Linked DNA regions of Homo sapiens: region 1 is linked to region 2. Evidence: promoter capture Hi-C in human tissues and cell types (Jung and others, 2019). All regions are on one chromosome and are shown on one strand. Each heading gives the region's core, a stretch centred on a gene start or on the middle of the fragment in contact. The rest is flanking DNA. Distances are from core to core; before and after follow the strand shown. Region 1 has its middle 64 kb from the start of TRC-GCA5-1. Region 2 holds the start of BCL2A1 (BCL2 related protein A1).

What was found. Contacts are between HindIII fragments. The study calls those that stand out against the background at their distance.
Region 1: a fragment that was not itself captured here is called in contact with the fragment with the promoter of BCL2A1 in region 2 in 1 of the 25 tissues and cell types used here (IMR-90 fibroblasts).

What each region holds. Positions count from the first base shown.
Region 1 is chr15:79,678,038-79,682,358 of GRCh38, reverse strand. No RefSeq gene overlaps it. Among named protein-coding and RNA genes, the nearest start is that of TRC-GCA5-1, 64 kb to the left of the region's middle. The HindIII fragment of the contact is 6,632 bases long and covers 1-4,321 here.
Region 2 is chr15:79,969,043-79,973,656 of GRCh38, reverse strand. BCL2A1 (BCL2 related protein A1) reads left to right here and starts at 2,461. Exons shown (of 2, transcript NM_004049.4): 1 at 2,461-2,957. The coding sequence starts at 2,538. RefSeq lists an enhancer at 1,838-3,037. The HindIII fragment of the contact is 21,858 bases long and covers 1-4,614 here.

The DNA.
Region 1 (4,321 bases), core at 1,200-3,699, 290 kb after region 2:
TATTGCCTGCCTGCCTGCAGATTTACTTGACTCTTTGGATGCAAACTCATATCTGCATCCAGCCATTGCTCCTGTGGTGGTGGTTTGACTGAAGGACAGGGAACCCTAATTTTTTTAAGTGTTGTTACATCCCTATCTATACCAGACCTCTCCAAACTCCTGGGTGATTTCTAAGGTGTTAGGCTGCTGCAACCCTGCTAGCAATCTCGGAGGGGATTCCTAGACACCCATGACCCATAGTGAGGTGGGAGGATATTGGTGCCTTTGGCAGACCACGCAGCCCCCAGCCACCATCCCCCAGTGCTGGATGACTTCCCCTCCAGGGCTGTGTTGACTTTTAGACACGAAAGCCACCTGATCATTTATTCTTCCAATGTCATGCTCCATTTGAAGTGGTCCAACTAAGCCTGATTGCTATCCCAGTGACATCTTTTACTCCATGGGGCACATGTCCCATCCCTGGAATAACCTACTTCATCTTTTCTGCTCTTTCCAAAAGGCCATAACCTCAGCATGCAGGGTTTCTCTCTGCAGTGTTCATCTGCAAGGGGCTGTTGGGTCCCTTAGGGGTCACCACTTCCAATGTTCAGGGCTCTAAACAAATTCCACAGTGTCCCGTGGTATGGGTTTAGGAGCTTTATTGGGAAGGAGAAATCTGAAATGAGCAAAGAAAGAGAACGGGGGTTCCCTGTCCCTGCTATTTAGTTCCTGGGGAGGTATAGGGATTGGTGGCTTCCTTCCCGGATAGACAGAGCTGGACTTTACAAGGCCCCAGGTGCTGGCCGGCTTGCAGGCCAGACAACCCCAGTAAACAGCTGGCACATCAGAGCCAAATGCCAAGCCCCAAACAACCTGTCCCCCATGGGCAAGGCTGCTTTCTTACGGATGCTCTATAAAATGACCCAGTCCCAGACACAACTCCTCCCCTGGAAGGTAGACATGGGCTGTCTGACCAGTGAATCCCCAGGCCTTGGCCCACAGGAGCCTGGGAGCCTGGCCCCTCTTCCCTTATTGGCTCAGGCCTTGTGAATATTCTCCTCTCCACAAAAGCTTATTCCTTAATCTGGACCAAGTAACACGGTGGAGTTCATGGAAAGCATGGCGGCTGGCAGGTGGAGTTGTAGCCACCTTGCCAGGCGATTGCCTATGTTTAAATATGTGAAAGAGGCAGATTGTAAAATTCCCTCTCTCTGCCGGCATTGTCTGTTTTGCTCTAACAAGATTCTCCCTTAAGAGCAATGTGTTCTTTGACAATAGCCTGGGGACAGGAGAGGCAAAGTCTTTAAACAAAAATTGTTATTACTCCCACTACTGCTCTCTACTCTTACCTAATTCAAAACATCCCAAGGAGGCTGCATGCCTAACACTCCTGCACCCCAACAGGAAAATAAGTAAGCAGGAAAGCCGGAAGCCCCAAGGATCTGATGCTGCAGTGACTCACTGAGGGGCTTTCCCCTGCTGGGTGCTCTGGAGGCTTTTAAACCTTCGACAATGCCTCGTAGTGAGACTGAGGATGGGCGTGCTTTTACTTTTCTTTTGTCAAGTGGACAAAGGGTTGGTGAGCAAGGGGGTCATTCTTTGGCAGATCAGCTTTAGTACAGATTACACAGAGGCTGAGTGCTTGGGCGATGATTCCTTTTAGCCCGTCCATGTCCAGGTATCCCTTAGAAAGTCTCCAACAACCCCTAGAGATGTGCCTTCCCTAGTTTGAGGACCACTGACTGGTCTAGGAATCTAGGATTCCGAGGTGTCAGGCTTAGGCTAGAGTGCCCTGGGGCCTGCCTGGAAGCTGATAGCCTCCTTGGAACAGTTGCTGGAGACGGTATCTTTATAGAGAGGCTTTTGTGGGTGATGGAGGTTTTCTTCTTCTGACAGATATGCACACAGCTGCAGGAGTTAGCCAATACTATTTTTTCTACCTTCCACTGTTACTGCTGCTATTACTGCTCTCCCCCTGTTTATCCTCTAGCTACATGGTCTCCTAGTAGGTCTTCCAACACACCAGGCACACTCGGTCCTCAGGGCCTTTGCACTGGCTGTTCCCTCTGCTGTAATGCTGATCCAGATATCTGCATGGCCAACTCCCTCATCTGTAATTCTGTTCTCCAGGAGGCCTGCCCTGACTCGTCTATTTCAAGTTGCAACTACATGTTCCTCTCCACCTCCTCTCTATCCCTCATGCCTTCCCTTATTTCCTCTATGAAACCTATCATCTCCTAAAACATTGATTTATGTATTTACGTTTAATGTTTTTGTCTTCCTCTACCACCTCTCACTCCCTGGAACAGAAATTCTTTGAGGGCAAGGATCAGTCTGCTTTGTTCACTGATGTACACTAAATGCCTAGAAGGGAGCTGGCACATGGTTGGTGTGCAGTAGACATTTGCTAATGAAGGAATAAATGAACAGACTCATTTGGTGAAAAAAACAAGTTCAACTTTCACAGCTTAGCTGATCCACATGACCTCTCCCTTAAAAAATATGCAACGCACCATAGCATCAAATTACACCTGAGCTCTGAGAAGTGGCCAGCCTTTCCTTTTTCTTCTCTCCTCCTCCTCTGGTCTTCCTCCTCTTCCTCCTCCTTCTTTTTCCTCTTCCGCTTCTTCTTCTTTTTTTTGTTTATCAGCCAGTATACATGACCCTGACTGACCCTTTTAGTCTCATCTCTGGTCCTTTTTGATGAAGCCCAGAGCCTGCAAACCAGAGGCCAGCGGGACAAAGTTGGCGTGCAGACATGTTTCTTCACAGTGGTTAAAATGAATAAAAATGCATCACCAATCTTTGAAAAAATTGTATATATTTAATATATGTATATATACATTTTTTGAGACGGTCTCATTCTGTCACCCAGACTGGAGTGCAGTGGCATGATCACAGCTCACTGCTCAAACTCCTGGGCTCAAGTAATCCTCCCACTTAATTCTCCCAACTATCTGGGACTACAGGCAAGTGCCAATATGGAATATTTCAAAGATATTTAAACTTCGAAACTATCAAAGCTATCAACATCTTCTTTTGTCTTCTGAAAAATCAGATTTGCTAACATTGGGCCACATCCCCAGTAGGCAGAAGCTAAGCACCAGCTGCCCCTTAGACAGGGCACCGTCTCCATCACCTCCTACTGTGTCCTTGCCACTGGCACCAAGATTAGCAGTGTTCTTGCTGAGCTGTGGCTCCTTCCATAGCCTGCTTTATGTACTCTGTGATTTGTACCCACCTGGCCTCTATAGAAATTTGAGTTTATAGCCCTTGATTTTAAAGATAATGAAGAGATCTGCAGTTCCCAGAATTTGTCCTGTGGTCTCTTTCATTTCCAGGCCTTTGCCAATGCTGGCTTTCAACCTGGAATATTCACCTTCCCCTCTTCACCTGGTCAGCTTCTACTCATTACCTTAGATGGCACTTCCTGTAGGAAGCATGCTTTGGTTTTCCAATATAGAGTTAAGTGCCCTTCCTTATAACAATGCAGGAAGTTCCCTTCCTCTCATTCTGCTGTGAAGTCTTCTCTGTCACTCTGTATTATAATTTCTTATCTTCTTCCCTACTAGATTTAGAGCATTTTTAAGGTAGGGACATGTCTTGTTCACCTTAAGTCCAGGAGTTGGCAAATTATAGCCCACAGGTGAAACTTAACCGGCAGGCTCTTTGTGTACAGCCCTAACGCTAAGAGCAGTTTCTACATTTTTAGAGCATGGTAAGAACAAAACAGTATGTGAGAGACAGCCTATGTGGCCTACAATGCCTAAAATATTCACTCTCACAATCTTTACAGAAAAAGTTTGTTTATCCCTATTCTAGCCTTCCATCTGGCACAAAGTAAGTATTGAATAAATGTGAAATGAATAAATAGCTGTTGTCTTATACCTGGCATTCCAAGTAATACACATGTACTGGAGATTCTAAATTGAGTGGAGAGATAAAGACATTGTATATAGCTTATCAATGTATGGTTACTTAACCTCATAATTTTACCTGCTCCAGGGGGAATACCCCCCATGCCCTCTGCATTGCATGATGCTGCTCACACATTACATATATGTAATACTATGTTTATATTACAATAACATATTTATTATATTATGACATTAATTATACATTATGTAATATATATCATTTAAATAATATAAATAATATACTCACATAATATATTTACATAATAATAATTAATTATTATTATTTTCTATTTCACAAACACTCAAATCTTCCAAGTTTGTTCTAGCCACAGCACCTTTGCATTTTCCATTCCCTCTGCATGGAGTGTTCTTCCCCCAGACTCCTGCACAGCTGGCTTCTCTTCAACACTCAGATCCCAGCTCAA
Region 2 (4,614 bases), core at 1,212-3,711:
TGGCTGGGAACAGCCTGTAGGATGTGTGGCCTCAGTGCAAAGCTGTGGTAGATTCAAAGCACTGCGGCTGGGGCCCTTAGTCAATTAAACCACCACAGTAGGTCTGAAAGATGCATTTTCATGGCTGCCACGCTATTAACGAGCATTCTAAGCAGCACCTCTCCTTTCCTCCTTAACCCTATGGTGATAGTTCAGAAATGCAGGTTATATATGAATCATTTTTCCTATTTGCAGCTGGTCATAGACAGGATAAAAGACTCAAAGTCACTCCATATGTGGATGGAAAAAAAAAGTGAATTCAATTTCTCCAGCGACCATGAGTTATCTCCTTTTTCTTCCATCCACTGCAAACCTTTTCTCAGGATTGCTGCCATAGCTAAATCAAATGAGATTTGCATTTCACCTATGAAGTTATATCCTTGATAGGTAAAGAGATGATTGGGAGGCCAAATTCCTCATTAGTCCACAAAAGAACAATGAGGAACTAGCTTTGATTAGGCACGTACGTTTTACCAGGCATGGTGATAGAGGCTTTACATAGGTCATCTCTTTGAACTTCACCTCAACCCTCTGAGGTCAACATGTATTGCCTCATTTTACAAATTAAGCACAGACCCAAGGTACATACTGAGTAAAGAAAGAGAGATTTGGCTGGGACTGAGTCCAGGCCCTCTGACTGTAAGTCCAGTGCTCTTTCTGGTCCTGCAATTTCTAATCCACACATCGGATAGTTTACCTGAGTTAAAAATGTGAATTAAGTCAGGCTTAAAGCAGAATTTTGTTTTCTATCAGAAATTCTAGAGTAGGTGGAAGGTGAAGACCAAAGAAGGTATTTTCTTTTTCTTTTTCTTTTTTTTTTTTTTGAGATGGAGTCTCGCTCTGTCGCCCAGGCTGGAGTGCAGTGGCACAATCTCAGCTCACTGCAAGCTCCGCCTCCTGGGTTCAAAGGATTCTCCTGCCTCAGCCTCCCAAGTAGCTGGGACTACAGGTGCCCGCCACCATGCCTGGCTAATTTTTTGTATTTTTGGTAGAGATGGGGTTTCACTGTGTTAGCCAGGATGGTCTCGATCTTCTGATCTCGTGATCCGCTCGCCTCAGCCTCCCAAAGTGCTGGGATTACAGGGGTGAGCCACCGTGCCTGGCCCAAAGAGGGTATTTTTTTCTTCCCTCTCGGTATCATCCTTACTCAATTACAAATGATCAAGGGCGGTACTGCCAGAGTCACCTCGAGAGGCCCTGTTCTCTGCCACCCAGGCTGTTTTGTAGTCTCCATTCCAAATTGTCGTTACTCCGGTTTACCCCGTGGATGGCGTTTAAGACTTTTCTTAAATTTGAAATTCACAGAACCATTTTAAAGTGAACAATTCAGTGGCATTTAGTACCTTCGCAGTGTTGTGCAACTTCCACCTCTATCTAGCTGCAAAACATTTTCTTTTCTTTTTTTTTTTGGAGACAGAGTCTCGCTCTGTTGCCCAGACTGGAGTGCAGTGGCGTGATCTTGGCTCACTGCAACTTCTGTCTCCCGGGTTCAAGCAATTCTCCTGCCTCAGCCTCCCGAGTAGCTGGGATTACAGGCACACGCCACCCGCCTGGCTAATTTTTTGTATTTTAGTACAGACGGGGATTTACCATATTGCCCAGGCTGGTCTCAAACTCCTGAGCTCAGGCAATCCGCCCGCCTTGTCCTCCCAAAGTGCTAGGATTACAGGCGTGAGCCAACGCGGCCGGCCTTGTAAAACATTTTCATCACACAAAAGAAAACCTTCTACCCATTAAGCAGTTACTCCTTCCTCTTCTCAGCCCCTGTCAACCACCAATTTGCTTTCTATCCTATGGATTTAACTGTCTGGATATTTCATAGAAATAGAATCACATAATGTATGACCTTTTCTGTTTGGCTTCTTTCTATTAGCCTAATGTTTTTGAGGTTCATTCCTGTTGAAGCATGTATCAGTTCTTCATTCCTTTTTTGGGATGAATAATGTTCCATAATTTATTTATCCTTTCGTCTGTTGATGAACATTTGAGTTGTGTCCACATCTTGGCTATTGTGAATAGTGCTGCCATGTACATTCGTATGTAAGTATTTGAGTATCTGTTGGGTGTATACCTATGAATGGAATTGCTGGGTCTTTTGACAATTCTGTATTTAACTTTTTGAGAAACTGCCAACATTTTCACAGGGGTTGTACCATTTCACATTCCCACCAGCAATCTACAAGGATTCTAATTTCTCCACATCCTGCATTTAAGACTTGCAAAGCTGAATTAATCACAGGATGAGGAAGTGGCTTCTCTGAAACATTTTCCTCTTTCACATTTTAAACTTTCTCTTTCATACATGACATGAAACACAGCCTACGCACGAAAGTGACTAGGAGGAAGGATATTATAAAGTGATGCAAACAGAAATTCCACCAGCCTCCATGTATCATCATGTGTCATAACTCAGTCAAGCTCAGTGAGCATTCTCAGCACATTGCCTCAACAGCTTCAAGGTGAGCCAGCTCAAGACTTTGCTCTCCACCAGGCAGAAGATGACAGACTGTGAATTTGGATATATTTACAGGCTGGCTCAGGACTATCTGCAGTGCGTCCTACAGATACCACAACCTGGATCAGGTCCAAGCAAAACGTCCAGAGTGCTACAAAATGTTGCGTTCTCAGTCCAAAAAGAAGTGGAAAAGAATCTGAAGTCATGCTTGGACAATGTTAATGTTGTGTCCGTAGACACTGCCAGAACACTATTCAACCAAGTGATGGAAAAGGAGTTTGAAGACGGCATCATTAACTGGGGAAGAATTGTAACCATATTTGCATTTGAAGGTATTCTCATCAAGAAACTTCTACGACAGCAAATTGCCCCGGATGTGGATACCTATAAGGAGATTTCATATTTTGTTGCGGAGTTCATAATGAATAACACAGGAGAATGGATAAGGCAAAACGGAGGCTGGGTATGTGTGATGGAAAAATTCTTCATTGTTCTTTCCTGTGAAATAGAAATTGAGAATTTCCTTGCTAGTTAAAACAACAACAAAACACTTTACCTAAGAATACTATTTTCCTTGGGTGGTTTGTTTTAATTTTTAAAATAAAAATATACTTTCTGGCTTATTTCCAATGAATCCTTGAACTTGAACTTTATAGTTGGAAAGCACTTATGTTTTCAGTTTTTATTCTTAACAGTATAAATTACAGTAGTGAGCTTTGGGGATTAATAAAGCACCTCTCTCATGCAGCTTCACAATCAGCTGTGCACACACTCTAATCTAGTACTTAGCTTTTGCTAGGGTTGTCATGACAGTACAGACAGTACAGAAATTTCTACAATCAGCACAGAAAGTTGCTATCAGATGCTGTTATTTTTAGGTATTTATGGGTTGCAAAAGACAGGTGTAAATTTTTGTAAGTTCATCGCTTACAAATTGGTGTTTTTCAGTTTACTAATACATAATAAATAGTAACATATATTAATATATAGCAAATTACATTACATATAATATATAACACATTATTACTAATAATAAATTCCGGGCTGTTAAAGTTTGTTGATTAAAACATAATATACTGTATGACCAGCAAGAACCTTTATTCAAGAATTTTCAAATAAAAATTTACTTTATTATCAGTGCCTAAAAAAGCCAAGACTATGTAGAGGCCTGTGTTGAAACTCATGTTGGTAAAAAGCCTGACACAGCTGGATGTATATGGTTTCCTTTATATTCCAATATACTTAATAATTATTTTTTTAAAGCACTTAAGTGTTCATTGATCCTCTCTCCAACGGCCTTCACCTCTCCCAAGAGGTAACCACTGTTATCAATTATTTTGCATGCAAAACATGCCTACTGAATCTATCCATAGAAAATAAACAATACTTCTTTGTAAAACATTTTTTGTAAAAAAAGTTTTATATAAAATGTATATGTATGCTTATGTATATGTTTTACATAACATATATGTTATACCATATAACACATACCTTTTTTACATATACACATAGATTTTTTATGTATACATATAAATTTTGCATACATATTTTTACATGTGTATATGTAAAAATAGTACATGGTACTAATGCTGCCACTTATTTTTTTACCCAGAATTATTTAAAATAGTATTATTAAGAGTGCTGTGTATATTCTGTTATATGTAAGTGCTGTAGAGTACCTGGCCATTTCTAGCTGATAGCTGTTTAGGTTATTTCGAGTTTGCTGTCACACACAATGCTTCATTGAATATCATTTTACGTAAATCTTCCCTTGTGCGTGTGTGTAGTTTTCTAGGGTGGATGTTGGGTTGTAGATGCTGGGTCATGGTGTACATACATTTTTTAATTTGTTAGGTCCTTGCCCTCCAAAGTGGCTCTACCAAGTTACACTCCCATCAGCAGCTCGTTAGGATATGCCCCGGGATTCTCCTACCCCAGCTGACTAACAGTAGGTTGCTGCAATTCATCATAATTTTCTTAATTTGTTGGGCTAAAAATATAGAGTTTATCTTGTTTCAATTCTTGTTTTCTTGATTTCTAGTAAGGTTAATTTTTTTTTTACATTTTGAGCATCTTTTCATATATTAACTGATCATTTGTAAATGCAGGGAATTGTCTGT